5 separate regions of the Homo sapiens genome follow, and all the other regions are linked to region 2. The links are contacts of gene promoters, found by promoter capture Hi-C in blood cells and fetal thymus (Javierre and others, 2016). All regions are on one chromosome and are shown on one strand. The core of a region is centred on a gene start or on the middle of the fragment in contact, and the rest is flanking DNA. Distances in the headings are between cores, read along the strand shown. Region 1 has its middle 330 kb from the start of NR5A2. Region 2 holds the start of NR5A2 (nuclear receptor subfamily 5 group A member 2). Region 3 has its middle 280 kb from the start of NR5A2. Region 4 has its middle 360 kb from the start of NR5A2. Region 5 has its middle 300 kb from the start of NR5A2.

What was found. The method cuts DNA at HindIII sites, captures the fragments that hold promoters and counts their contacts. A CHiCAGO score of 5 or more calls a contact.
Region 1: a fragment that was not itself captured here is called in contact with the fragment with the promoter of NR5A2 in region 2 in 9 of 17 cell types (monocytes, M2 macrophages, M0 macrophages and 6 more); the score reaches 10.0 in monocytes.
Region 3: a fragment that was not itself captured here is called in contact with the fragment with the promoter of NR5A2 in region 2 in 1 of 17 cell types (M1 macrophages); the score reaches 5.2 in M1 macrophages.
Region 4: a fragment that was not itself captured here is called in contact with the fragment with the promoter of NR5A2 in region 2 in 1 of 17 cell types (M1 macrophages); the score reaches 5.1 in M1 macrophages.
Region 5: a fragment that was not itself captured here is called in contact with the fragment with the promoter of NR5A2 in region 2 in 1 of 17 cell types (endothelial precursors); the score reaches 5.2 in endothelial precursors.

Annotation. Positions count from the first base shown.
Region 1 is chr1:199,701,353-199,704,052 of GRCh38, forward strand. No RefSeq gene overlaps it. Among named protein-coding and RNA genes, the nearest start is that of NR5A2, 330 kb to the right of the region's middle. The HindIII fragment of the contact is 2,167 bases long and covers 262-2,428 here.
Region 2 is chr1:200,026,438-200,029,137 of GRCh38, forward strand. NR5A2 (nuclear receptor subfamily 5 group A member 2) reads left to right here and starts at 1,273. Exons shown (of 8, transcript NM_205860.3): 1 at 1,273-1,474. The coding sequence starts at 1,411. The HindIII fragment of the contact is 3,447 bases long and covers 719-2,700 here.
Region 3 is chr1:199,750,315-199,753,014 of GRCh38, forward strand. It overlaps the pseudogene RIDAP1. Among named protein-coding and RNA genes, the nearest start is that of NR5A2, 280 kb to the right of the region's middle. The HindIII fragment of the contact is 3,745 bases long and covers 1-2,700 here.
Region 4 is chr1:199,662,222-199,664,921 of GRCh38, forward strand. No RefSeq gene overlaps it. Among named protein-coding and RNA genes, the nearest start is that of NR5A2, 360 kb to the right of the region's middle. The HindIII fragment of the contact is 1,662 bases long and covers 490-2,151 here.
Region 5 is chr1:199,721,505-199,724,204 of GRCh38, forward strand. No RefSeq gene overlaps it. Among named protein-coding and RNA genes, the nearest start is that of NR5A2, 300 kb to the right of the region's middle. The HindIII fragment of the contact is 1,610 bases long and covers 456-2,065 here.

The DNA of each region.
Region 1 (2,700 bases), core at 95-2,594, 330 kb before region 2:
CTAATTATAATTTCTTTATTTTGATAATTTTTCTAAGTTTATATGAAAGGTTAAAATCAGACGAATCTGGGCAAAAGTTATGCAGAAACTTTCTGTACTATTTTTTACAAACCTGTAAGACTACAATTATTTTAAATTATTATGTTTTTATTAAAAAATTTAAATATATTCTGAAGCTGTACTTAGTTTTACTTTAATGTTCACTAGACTTCAGTACCAACACAATTGGCATATTGATATATATATAATTGTTCTGAGGAAAGCTTGTTTGATTTGGTGATTTTCTGTATTTTTACTAAGAAATGGAAGTATTTCCATTTCAAGTAAATTGGTACAAGAGCCAAATTCAGTGAGAATGATAATAATTTTCCCCCAGAAACCAACAGAGCCTCAGAAGAGTAGACAAAAGTTTGGGAAGTCTTTTGAGAGTTTCCTAAAATCAGACTTTTATAATGGCACAAATGCTTTCGATAAGGATTCTTTGTATCCTTTCTCAAAGGACTTTTTGCTTATTAACTTAGGGAAGTGAGGGCAAGCATTTTTTTTGGAGAAGTCACAGTACATTTACAACACAGCTTTCAACATCATTGGTAGGAATTTGTAATCTTGAAAAATGCATGGAAGTCTCAATGCACTTTATAAAGGTCTTTGGGAGACAATATAATGGAATTCTTAACACAGTCCAATCAGAGTCTATCTCTTACTTATGGGCATGTACGTGTACTGTGGCAAATATTTTGGTATCCTGGGTATCTTTAGTTCAATCCCCAGAATATTAAACAATTCCCAGGCTTCGATTTTCTGTAAATGTTCAAGATCATCTAATAGCAATGATGTGAACTGCTCTGACAGACAGGTAATAAAAATTATGCTAATGAATTTGTAGTATAAAATCTCTCTAGGTGGTCTTTATTCTTGTTGAATCTTTAATTCATTTTCCTAAATATTTAAACAAGTCACTTTTATAACTCTACAGACCCTACTAAGAAATTGGCATCTCTGACCTGATCTGCAGATATTCTTGAGCTTCTTTCTCTTTATTGGGTTGGCCTGTTATATTGTGTTATGCAGAAATGACCAGTATTTCTATTAACAGCTACTCCTTTAATTATTCTCCCAAGTATTGATGAAGGTCACTAGTGAAATCTTTCTCTGGCCTTCAAAGTGTTATATTTGGTTCTGTGTAGAAAGATTGTTGAAGAGTATCAATTTCAAGTTCACATTATAATGATCTGGCCAAGTAGTATTTTTTTAAATCTCCAAAATTAGAAATGCCTATCTCTTACATTACAAGCAGCCACATTCTCAAAAGGCTCTTAAGATCAACAATGAGACATGAGCAAGGAGAGGTAAGGCTGGTGATACATATCATTTCAATTATATCAGAACTGTTTTAATGCCTTAGCTTTAAGGACCCCCCAATCAGCAAGCACCACAACGTGAGTCTTTTTGGTGACTCCTATTTTATCTCCTTTGCCTAGAAAGGATATCTACACATGAATTTAGAAAACAGGATAGGCCTCAATCACTTCAGCTACACGCAAACCAAATTCTTTTACTCACAGAGTCTCAAAAGTTTCTGAGTGGAGATTTTATGCAACTGTTGATTTAAAATGCACTAAAGAATTTATACTTTCATTTTCTGGAGCGTTCTTTTTAATCAAGATCTTATGCTTGATACTAGAATACCTACTGGGATAGAAAAAAAGTAGATTGAAAAGCAAACATTGAATCACTATACTTTTTTACATAAAATACATATCAAGATTAATTACAACTTAAAAACTTAATCTGCAACTGCAGCAACTCAGAGAAATAGGACACTAATAGCATCACTGATTCCAGCATAGACAGCATAACAATAATTCTAGAGAAAATCGAGTGCCGTAGAAGGCAATCCTCATTAGCTGTTTGTCATGGCAGGTTACATCCCATGCTGTCAGGTCTCCTTGAATACTCACTTACAACTGAAACCCAGAAGTTGCCCAGCAAAAGGGAGAACATATTCAGCTTTGTAAAGGTAACTTCCATTTGCAAACAATAAACCCTAATCATATAATATTTAGCAGGATTTTACTATAAATTCAATTCTAATTATATTCAATGCAAGATTCAATTTTGTTTCATATTCTATGTTGTTTGTTTTTCACTTAAATTAGAGCCTCTGTTCCCAGGGGTGTTATATCTTCAGTAATCTCATACCTCAAAATGGCTACCTCTGACCATCTCAGCTTCAGCAAATCTCTTGAACTCTTTCTTGAATGATCGATCTTCAGCAAATGCATAACACCTGCTAAGAAGACCTTTTTCTTCTAATATTTAAATCCAAATATTCAATTTATTTAAAAGAGAACTTTATATGTGCCTAATTATTTACCTTCAAATTATCAAAGAGAAAAAATGGTAAAGGTTATTTACTCATCAGGAAAGCTTTTGAGTCACCAATACATTTTCAGAAAACTTTTAATGATGTTTAATACAGGAAAATGCTTTTTTTCTGAAACTTCAAAACCCGGTTCACATGAAACTACCCTATGATTAAAATAATCTCTAAACTTGTAAGCAAGAATCTATTTAACCCACAAGTCTATTTCTTTTCTCCCTATTTTCTAATCAAATTCTAAAATGTTGTGGAAAGATACAGTGAAAATATCTACTGCTTTGCGAGCAGTCTCGTTCAATAACATGCAGACCTACAAT
Region 2 (2,700 bases), core at 23-2,522:
GGTGTGCCCCTGTAATCCCAGCTACTGGGGAGGCTGAGGCGGGAGAATTGCTTGAACCCGGGAGACAGAAGCTGCAGTGAGCCGAGATCGTGCCACTGCACTCCAGCCTGGGCAACAGAGCGAGAACCCATCTCAAAAAAAAAAAATTGTTATTTTGTTGTTATTGTTGTTTTTGAAGACAGAGTCTCACTCTGTTGCCCAGGCTGGAGTGCGGTGGCATGATCTTGGATTGTGTTCTTCCAGGGTTGCAGAGAGAAGTGCAACAGCGTCTCATTGCAACCTCTGCCTCCCAGGTTCAAGCAATTCTCCCGCCTCAGCCTCCCAAGTAGCTGGGATTACAGGAGTGCACCATCACACCCAGCTAATTTTTGCATTTTTAGTAGAGATGGAGGTTTCACCATGTTGGCCAGGCTGGTCTCGAACTCCTGACCTCAGGTGATCCGCCTGCCTTGGCTTCCCAAAGTGCTGGGATTACAGGTGTGAGCCACCATGCCCAGCCTAAGAATAATAACTTTATAACTATGAAAAATGTGTTACATATTCACCATTTTGCCAGCATTAATCTCAAAGCATAAGTTTTACCTTTTGGGGATAAAGAGATAGATTGTGTTTTAGCCATATGACCAATGTAGAAACAAGCTAAGGTTAACTCCTCATCTAATGAATAGGCCCGATAAAAAAGTTGGTTGACCACAACATGAATAAATAAATAACCATAAGCTTGGAAATGCTACCTGTAGTATTTCAGAGTGTCGATCACATTTGTAGTCATCACTTAAAGAATTAATGTCTGCCAATGTTATCATCTAAAATGTATTTACAGAGGTCAGAAGAGCTATGTCTGTCCTCCTCTATGCAAAGAGGTGATGACATCAAGGGGTATGTCACAAGCCAAAGTTTAGTTAGCCTAAGTTAGTTAGCTGGTTTGCAGTTTTTATCCACTAAGTCTGATCTTCTGACCCCTCAGTTTTACAACTTTCCACTCTCTGTGCTGCATAGCACCTCTCCACTTCTGAGTTAATCATTTCTTTGCCATTATCTGGCAAGAATTCTTATCTCTTTTGCTGTCACTTTATAACAGGGTCCTCTTATCAACCTGCATAGAGTCATGTGATGAGTCAAAGCCTATCAAAAGTTTCCATTCTTCTGATTAGAAACCATCATGAAACTGGATACATGGTTTACAGCAGGTCACTAATGTTGGAAAAAGTACAGAGTCCAGGGAAAGACTTGCTTGTAACTTTATGAATTCTGGATTTTTTTTTTTCCTTTGCTTTTTCTTAACTTTCACTAAGGGTTACTGTAGTCTGATGTGTCCTTCCCAAGGCCACGAAATTTGACAAGCTGCACTTTTCTTTTGCTCAATGATTTCTGCTTTAAGCCAAAGAACTGCCTATAATTTCACTAAGAATGTCTTCTAATTCAGATACTGGGGATTTACAAGAGTCTTTAAAGCACGGACTTACACCTATTGGTAAGTAGGAGTTTCTCTATTGATCATCTATTTATTCTGCTACTACATACATATAATTTAATCTTGTTGATGGATTTTGCATTTTAAGTCATGGCTTTTCCTATTATGTTTATTAAAAGCACACAATAAGCCTATGTATATATATCACACATTTATCTTTCTTGCAGTTCAAAAAAAGCAAATGGATATTTCAACATATGAATATTATTCATTATATCTAGTGTTTACTGGTGTCATTCTAATACCCTAATCAGCCAGAAAATATAATTTATACTTTATCAATTTCAACTTTAATATTTTCTGATAATTTTTAATCAGAAATAATAAGCTAAAATTTGAACAATTTGAAACAAGTTAATCATATTGAGTGATCATTGATCAAACTTTAACAGATAGCTGTCAAGTATTTGTTACTTTTCAACCCACACAAAAGTATGGTGTCTTATTCTCTGCTTATACCGTAAAAAATTTTCATTTTATTTTCCTGGGGAATGAAAGTCATGCCCCCACCTCCAAAAAAAAAAAAAAAAAACCAAAAAAACTAGACCATCATTAGTAAAGGATTTGAAGAGCTACTGTTTCTCGCAACAATTAGTATATTTTGTTTTTACAAACAGAAATAAGTAAATAAAGCTACTATTCATTTAAAAAATAGAGTTACAAACTTATGAATTTTATAGCAAGACTACATTCAATTAATTCTAAAAGTAAAGGACTGAAGGGAAGTGATTCCCAGTGATCTGTAATTATTTGTCTGTTGGAAGTCAGGCCCTTCTGCCTTTCCCCAGTTTTTGAAGGACCTGTGCCTTTTCTGGCAGCATTTGCCTAGGCTTTCAGACTGGAATTTCCCTCCGAATTTGCAGGGGCCTGTCATGAGCTCTCTGAGTCTCAGCTCCATTATAACAAGAAAGAAAATCAAGGCTTGAGTTTTTCCTCTTTTTTCCTTCCTAGTCAGCTGACTCCACAGAATGCAGTGGAGTCACAGATTGCTTTTTTTATGGGCCAACTACACCCTAAAGTATATCACTTGAGGAAATGTTTACCAAAAATGTTCTATACTTACGAAAAAGAAAACATGGGGAAGGTAAGCAGGGTGTAACACACAATCAATTGTTCTGCAGATAACACAGAAAATACAGGCACAAGAAAGATGAGAGAGCAGCACACAACCATTTCGCATCTTTTTCGTCGGGCAGAACCGCCGCGGTGCGCAGGCAAGGAGTCCT
Region 3 (2,700 bases), core at 122-2,621, 280 kb before region 2:
ATATTACTGTGGACCAGGAGGTTGTTCAAGCATTTCATGTATATTACTTCATGCACTCCCAGACCCTGCCAACAACTCTATTAGGTATATACTTTTATCGTCCCCATTTTCTGGATAAGGAGATGAGCCTCCAATAGCTTAAGGGGCTTGCCCATGTTCACACAAGTAGTTAAGTACCAAAGCTGGGATTCAAACCCAGGAATGCTGGCTGTAGAATCCGTGGTCTTTCCCACTATCCTATGTTGCTTTTCAAATTTGGCATAACCTTTAAATGTAGCAATTTGTCTTTAGAAGCTAAAGAATCATGAAGATGGTATTTTTGGTCCCATTGACTTGTCCACAATGCTATTTTTATCAAAATTAAAATTATATAGTGCATTGGCAAATATTTACTAAGCATTAATGAAAAGTCATATTGCTAATGTTTTCTCTAAAATATATGTTAAGTACTGTATAAAATGTATGTAAGGTGAGTTAACCCATACAACCAATGTATGAGCTAAAGTAAATTAAGTGATGTTTTATTCATTTTTGGGGTCAATATGCACTGCTGTATATTTTACCAAAATTATTAGGGGAATGGAAAAGAAAATAGAAAAGCAAATTTATCTTTATACTAATGTAACATTATGTTTTCCTCTTTCCTGTAATCAAATCTAAGGTTATGTATGAAGCATTCACCATACTTTATAATCAATGTCTTTATTGATCCTCAAAACTATTGTAATATATAGCTTATAGGAAATTTACATCACAGAAGGCTATAAACACTGCAGCCCAGGTTTCTGGGAAGGTGAATGGTCATCTGGAATAAGTAATGTTGCTTGCCTCCGTGTTACTGTCACAATAATAGTAATAAAAACTAATAATAATATCAATAAATGTGTTTTTATTACTATTTGTCAGGCATTATGCAGATATTATTTCATTTCATCCTGATAACCACCTTACCTGGTAGGTGCTGTTATTATCCCCATTTTTTATATAAAGGATTTTATTCAAAATCAAACAGATAATAAATGGCAAAGGCAGATTTGGGGGTTTTGTCTGTTTGTTGTTGTTGTTTTGGGATGGGGGTCTCACTCTCGTCACCCAGGCTGGAGTGCAGTGGCACTATCGGCTCACTTCAGCCTCCATCTCCCTGGGCTCAGGAGATCCTCCCACTTCAGCCTCCCAAGTAGCTGGGACTACAGACGCACACCACCAAGCCTGGCTAATTTTTGTATTTTTTGTAGAGATGGGGTTACTCCATGTTGCCCAAGCTGGTCTCAAACTCCTGAGTTCAAGCAATCTGCCCTCCTTGGCCTCCCAGAGTGCTGGGATTACAAGCATGAGCCATCGCACTCGCAGAGGTGGATTCTAAATGAGGAAATTCGACTGGGAAGTAGAGAGATTCACCCCTAAAGTCTACTGGGTAGTACATGATGTGAACTTTGACACTGACTGAACTGTGTTAGAATTGTGGCTCTACTTCCTATTAGCCGGTAACCTCAGACAAATCTCTGAGTCTCCATTTCCTAATTTATAAAATGAAGATCATATTACAGTGTTGTTATAAGGATTAAATTTAAAAGCAGAGTCTATGACACCTATGATAGTAAACAAAACTATCTACCCTTTATTGAATGCTTATTGTATCTAGACTTTATGCTAAGTATTTTATAAATGTTATTTATTTAATCTTCCAATAACTCCATCAGACAGGTTTTATTACTCCCAGTTTATAAGAAACAGATTTAGAGAATCTATGCAATCAGTCCAAGTGACACAGACAGTGAGACATAGAGTGGAAAAGTGAATCCTGATCCACACATTGCTCATGATCCACATTGCTCACATGGCACTGGGTCAGTCCACCAGGTAATACGGAGTTCATGCTCTTTCACAAGACTGCAGAAACTGATACTGGGAACCAGTATCACTGATGTAAATCACTAGTCAAAACTGAGATTTGCCTGAGTTCAATATACTTTGTAGTTCACATAAATATTTCAGTATAAATATGACTATCTCCTCTCTGTCCACTGTTGGAGGGTCTCTCATGTTTCTGCACATCTTGCAAGCAGAGCCACTACAATCTTTTCAGAACAGTGAATAGGTCAGTCAGGCAAGAAGCAAGCAGGAATTGTACAGGGAGTTCTCCTGGAGGGGCCACAAGAGAGAAGGGTTAGCCAGGTCATCCTTAATCAGAAAGGCGATCAGCACCACGAAAGCCCCAGCGGCCATTGGGCCCTACAGTCAAGCTGTGTTAGTCAGGACAAACTTACATTTCAGGACAGATAAGCATGAACCCTTTAAGTGGACAGCTTGTGCCAAGAGGGCTTGTTTAGCAAAAGAAGCTAAGCAAGAACATGAGTAAAATTCTGAAAGCTGCAGGCTGTGACTTCACTAATGCAGTAAAAACAACTGTTTTGTTGGCTGACATAAATGACTTCCCTACTGTCAATGAAATCTACAAACAGTACTTCAAGAGTAGTTTTCCTGCAAGTGCTGCTTACCTGGTTGCTGCTTTGCCCAAAGGAGGCCAAGCTGAAATTGAGGAAGTAACTGACCAAGCACCTCTCACAACGGCATGACTATAAGTGGCCCGGTGTTATTTAGTCTGAAATTTTTCACATCTTGACTTTTACAATTGATATAACATCTTAATTTTTAGAACTGATGAAAATGTGAGTTTGACTAAAATATCTGAAGTTATTA
Region 4 (2,700 bases), core at 71-2,570, 360 kb before region 2:
ATTTCAGCTCTTTTCTCATTTTCTTGGAATGAATCAACAAATATGTATATCATATGTGCTATATTATATTTCATAGTTTTCTACAAGTGCAGAGGTACCAGTTTTGTTTGGATTTTATACTCCAATGCCCTTCCAGGTGATAATATTTTACTGAATTTTTTAAAGCAATAACAACGTATGGGTCAAAGACAATGAATATTTAATATAGAGGCACAGGAGGAGATGAAGCATAAATTATGTATTTTATCCTAAAGGGGAATTTTGAAATAATTTTCTAACATGAATGCTCCACCTACTAGTATTCAAGAGCCTATTCTTGTGATCTTCACGAAAGGACATTTGCAGGATGCACACCGGGAATCTTATTTCTATGTTGTCTCATTAAATCTCATTTGATCTACACTTTCACCCTGTGGAAGATATGTTATATCATTTCCATTTTTAAAAGTTTGAAGAGATTTGCTGTTCACATCTCCTGATCCGAAGTTAAGCTTCTCCTGGGTAAAGCAGAGATGGAGTTGTAGACAAAAATTGTGTGTGTGTGTATGTTTCTGTGAGTTTTCTTAATGTTTCTTAACTGATTTTAGTGAGCCTCTTTAGCAAACCTGGACATCAAACATGTATTTCTTTATAAACCCTTTAAGTGAAGTATAAAAATCCATCCAGAAAAGTTATTAATCCTAAGTGAACAGCTTAATGAAAAGCATTTAACATGTTCATGTGACATGTGCAGATCAAGAAACAGAACATCAACAGCATCCCAGAAAATCCCTCTCTAGTCCCCCACAATCTCTACCCCATCTATCCTCTCCACCAAACAAATATCTTTCATATCAACTTCTGTTCTGTTTTGACATTATTTAAAGCTATGCATCAACACCATATCCTTCTGCCCAGTGCTATCATCTCAACTAAAATGTCTTTATAGCTTTATGCCTTTTGTGACACAGCATATTAAAATTATTAATAGTAACTTGTCCTCCAGTAAGAAAATTCTGGTTACATTACTTACTAGTTTTGTCACTATGAACAAGTTACTTAACCCCTCTAAGGCTCAGTGGTTTCCTCAGTCATAAAATTTAGACAATACTGGTATCTATCTTTGTGAGATTATCATGGGGAAAAATGATAAAATATACGTAAACTTGCTAACACTCTGCTCGTTATCTAGTAAGAAAACAATACATAATATTTATCATTATAATTTCAGTATTTACTAGTGTGGCATGATTATAGGCAGTCAATAAATATTTGAGTCCCTATCCTGGGCTCTGGGTAACTCAGCTTGTATAAACTACATAAATCTCTACCTATACATAACCCAATTCCCTCTCTAATTTTAAATACAATCAAGATAATCCTAAATCTAAAACAACTGTTAGTAACTCTTCATTATTTCTAAAATCAAATTCACAATATATGCATATTTGTGTGTATAACTCTCCTAAAATGAAATACTTTCCACCTGGTTTCTCCTCAAAATCTATCTGTTAAGACCCATTCCAAATACTGCCTCCCATAGTACATCTTTACTTAATCTGATTCCAGGTAATCTCTGAAGGGCCAGGTTCTGTTACTTTCCTGAAGCCCTTCCATTGTCTCTCTTGGACAAGAGAAATACATGAGTGACCACACTGCACTTTCTATAGGACAGTCTCCCTGAGCACAGGAACTGTTGTCTAGATCACTTACAGCCAGCCCAGCATTATATTTTACATATAATAACAATAATATACTAAAAATCATGCTATCAGACAAGTATGTAGAAATTTATACTTTAATTCTTTTATCAACCTTCAAAACATGAGAGCTGCATAATATAATTATTCTCAGTTTGCAATTGTTTAATTTGACAAACACAGATATACCACTTACTACGCCCCAGCAGGACTGGCATGCTTTGCATAGTATAACTCACTTAATCCTACTGGGTGATATAGGCATTATCATTGTCCTCATTTTACAGATAAGGAGAATAAGACAAAATAGTTGAACAAGTAGCCCAAAGTCACCCAGATAGTAAAACAAATAAGTGAGGCTCATCCTCAGGCAGGCCACCTAACTACCATGCCACCATGTACTGCAGCCTGCATCATGACGGGCCACCAATAAGTAGGTGAAGAAATTGATTGAAGATAGACTTACAATTAAAGCTTTGGTCTATAATTAAATCAGTGTGTAAAAAATGGATTTTCTAACTATGGGGGTGGGGGAGATTGATGTTCCTCTTATGCCTCAATCTCTTCATCACCTGCTTCCTTTTCAGCTAAGCACAGTGTACTAGAGAGCTTAGCTCATCCATAGGGCTTGTTGCAGGCACAACAAGGAATCACTGTGGGTTTTCATGTCCTAGAAGTAGATGTAGCTAAAAAGCATTAATATGTTTTTGCAAAAAAAGATTAACAAATTCTTGTTTTCAAAAATCAAAGAACTTAAATTATAGTAGGATAATCTACTTTCATAATCAGTATTAACTTTTTAGATCAGTATTAACTTGTTCAATGACCAGGCATTTCTTATGTGGATTTGCTTTTCTTATCTTCAATGCATGTTTATTAAATATCTGCTCTGTGCATTGCACTATCCTAAGTTTCAGAGATACTAAAATATTAAGACATTATTTCAAATGTTTTATCATTTAGTTTTCTCTTTTAAGAAGTATCTTTTTTCCTTCTTTAACTGGTGGTCTTAATTGAGATA
Region 5 (2,700 bases), core at 11-2,510, 300 kb before region 2:
AAATGTGCTGGGTAGAGCTGGGGAAGATTACGTTTTGAGAAAATAAAGTAAAAGACTCAAAGGTGCATTTTGAAAGATGGCAAAATGCTAAGGGTGTTACAAAATGCTTCATGATTCTCACCTAGGTGTGGATATTGAGTAAGGTCAAGAGCTGTAAAACCTTTGCACACAGCTTTGTCTGTACTCAGATGAAGATAGTTACAACAGCTCCAAGCAAATCATAAAATAAGGGAATCGGTCTTTGATGGCCTTGTCTTATTCCTGCTCCACGCTTCCCAGAATGGTACCTTCTCCTCTCACTGCAGAAGAGCTGTGCCTCTCTGTTCCCAGAGCCTTGCCCCTATCAAAACTAGGACAAATCTGATACCTGTATTTACTTTCCCACACGTATCCCTTTATACTAAGATGTTAAACTCTTCTAGATGTGTTAAGACTTTTAATTCTGTGAAATAAAAAGCTTTGCTTTCTTTTAAAACGGTGCCAGTATTTAGAGAGGAAAAACAAACCATAGTTCTGCTGAGAAATCAAGCATTCCTTTCTGACTTCAGAAAGCAAAGTAGACAAGCATTGCTTCTTTTAGGGAACTAGAGGAGCAAAATCATAAAGAGAGGCTCCCTAAATCCTTTTATGAAGCAAATCTTAACCCCTCCCTTTCCCCGTTATTCCCCAGTTTGCTTCTTCATGCTAACTCGCCGCTCCAGGGGCCATCCGGACAAGGGTCTTGCTTCTCCTACAGCAGAGTCTGCATTGTAACTCTCAGCTTCACCTTCATATTTTATCACGCAGCTTTCCTTCTCTTTCGAATGCCCTAGAGCTCAATGAATCCGTAGATCAAGGTAGGGAAAAAAGAAAGAGAAAACCTGGGATCTGCTCAAAAACTTCTCATTTGTGGGCAGAGGCTCCTAGGAGAAGATTTGTAAGATGGAGACAGACAAGTTCACACCTCAGATCATAAAAAGGTATTTGAGGTCAAAGTAGCCCCTGTTGTGGAAGAGTAATATAAAAATTTTACCCAAAAAAGTACACACAAAATATACCTGAGTGGCAGTCATGGTGGAAGTGAGGATGAAATAGAACAGGTTATTTGGAAAATGTTGTTGGATTATGAAGAAAAATCTACATAGTGACAATGTGACTGTGTAAAATTTTCACAATTTCGTTTTTTTATTTTGAAAAAATTGTAGAAATTATCTAATTCAGCTTCCCACACAAAGTGGGGTGGGGAATCTTATATTCTAATTAAAAACATTTACTTCAGAACTTGGGTAATGTTACATCATATAAAGAACAACAAGAGGTGGTTTGTTGGAGGAGAGGAGGTGTAAGCCTTTTAGCAGCTGTGCATTCTCAGGCAAAAATTTATCTTCTCTGGGACTCCAAGAAAATGAGAGCTATTTGAACCCAGTTAGCCTCTAAGATTCTGTGGTGATTCCCACCACATAGTGTTTAATTTACACTAATTTATAAGTTATTACAATGGCATTTATAAATTTCATTAAGTATATGTTAAACAATGTACATTTTAGTTCTATATAAAAACACCTTCATGGTTTAAAGTTCATTACTTTGAGTATCATTGTATACTTATACTGCAAAATCCACAATCAAAACAAAAATAATCTATATTGTAATGCTGTCTTATTGACACATTAATGACGTTGTGTCCATGACAATAAATGATTACGTTCACATTTCCGAGAGACTCTTGGAGACCCCCTCTGTGAGTTTGTGAATTTTCACCCAGCATTGTGATACCACCGATGAGGAGTCTCTCCTATTCTGTCTCCCCTCTGCCCTTTATCAAAGGGGCCACAGATCAACCAAAAAGAAAAAAAAGAAAAAAGCCACACTTAGCTACAGAATGTCTCCTTTATTGAATATGTATCCTTTGTTGAACAATGAAAAGCAGCAAGTTGCTCAGACAGATAAACAGGAAGAGAGAATAAAAAATCTACATGTGTATGATATCGGACTTCTATTTTCACAGGATACTGACTGTAATTCACTCACAAAATAGCCTCTCCAATTCTAACTGAGCAAGTCTAGTTAAACATGACAATTTTAAAGCTTTTTAAGGAGCTAATTAATTCATTTGTTGATTAAATACAAATAAGGTCCACTTTTATTTTCTTAGCCTCCGGCCTGGGCTCTCAGAAGGCTGTTAAGCCTGCATAATAACTTCATCTGAATTTAATTTTTTCAGGCTACTTTGAAACGGTTACATAACTAATTCATATTAGTCATCTCAGAGAAATCTCAGACCAAGTTTTCATGTGTAAAGAGGCAGCCCTGCTAATCCTGCTTTCCTCTGGATCATAGCCTATGTGAAGGAGTTGAGAATTCTGCCACTATAGGTTGATGCTTGACCTTTGGGATTTTTCTGTGGATCTGCTACTGGTAAGTTAATATAAATTAGTGCACAACCAAAGTCTCAGAAATTTGAGTGCATTTATAAATTTGAAATTAAATTTAGTCTATAGAGAAAAATGAAGCTGATTTTGACTCACGTCTCATTTGGAAATGGCCTAATACCCTAGCAACCTCCTTCTGACTATCCTGCTTTCCCCTGATGTAGCCTGAGTTAACTCCAATTGGGGAGTAACATTTGGCCTTTCACACTATAGTTGCTAATGAACAACTCACTCCAGATATATTGGGAAACTCAAAGAAGTCACGTTATGTAGTCAGTAAGTTGCCTTT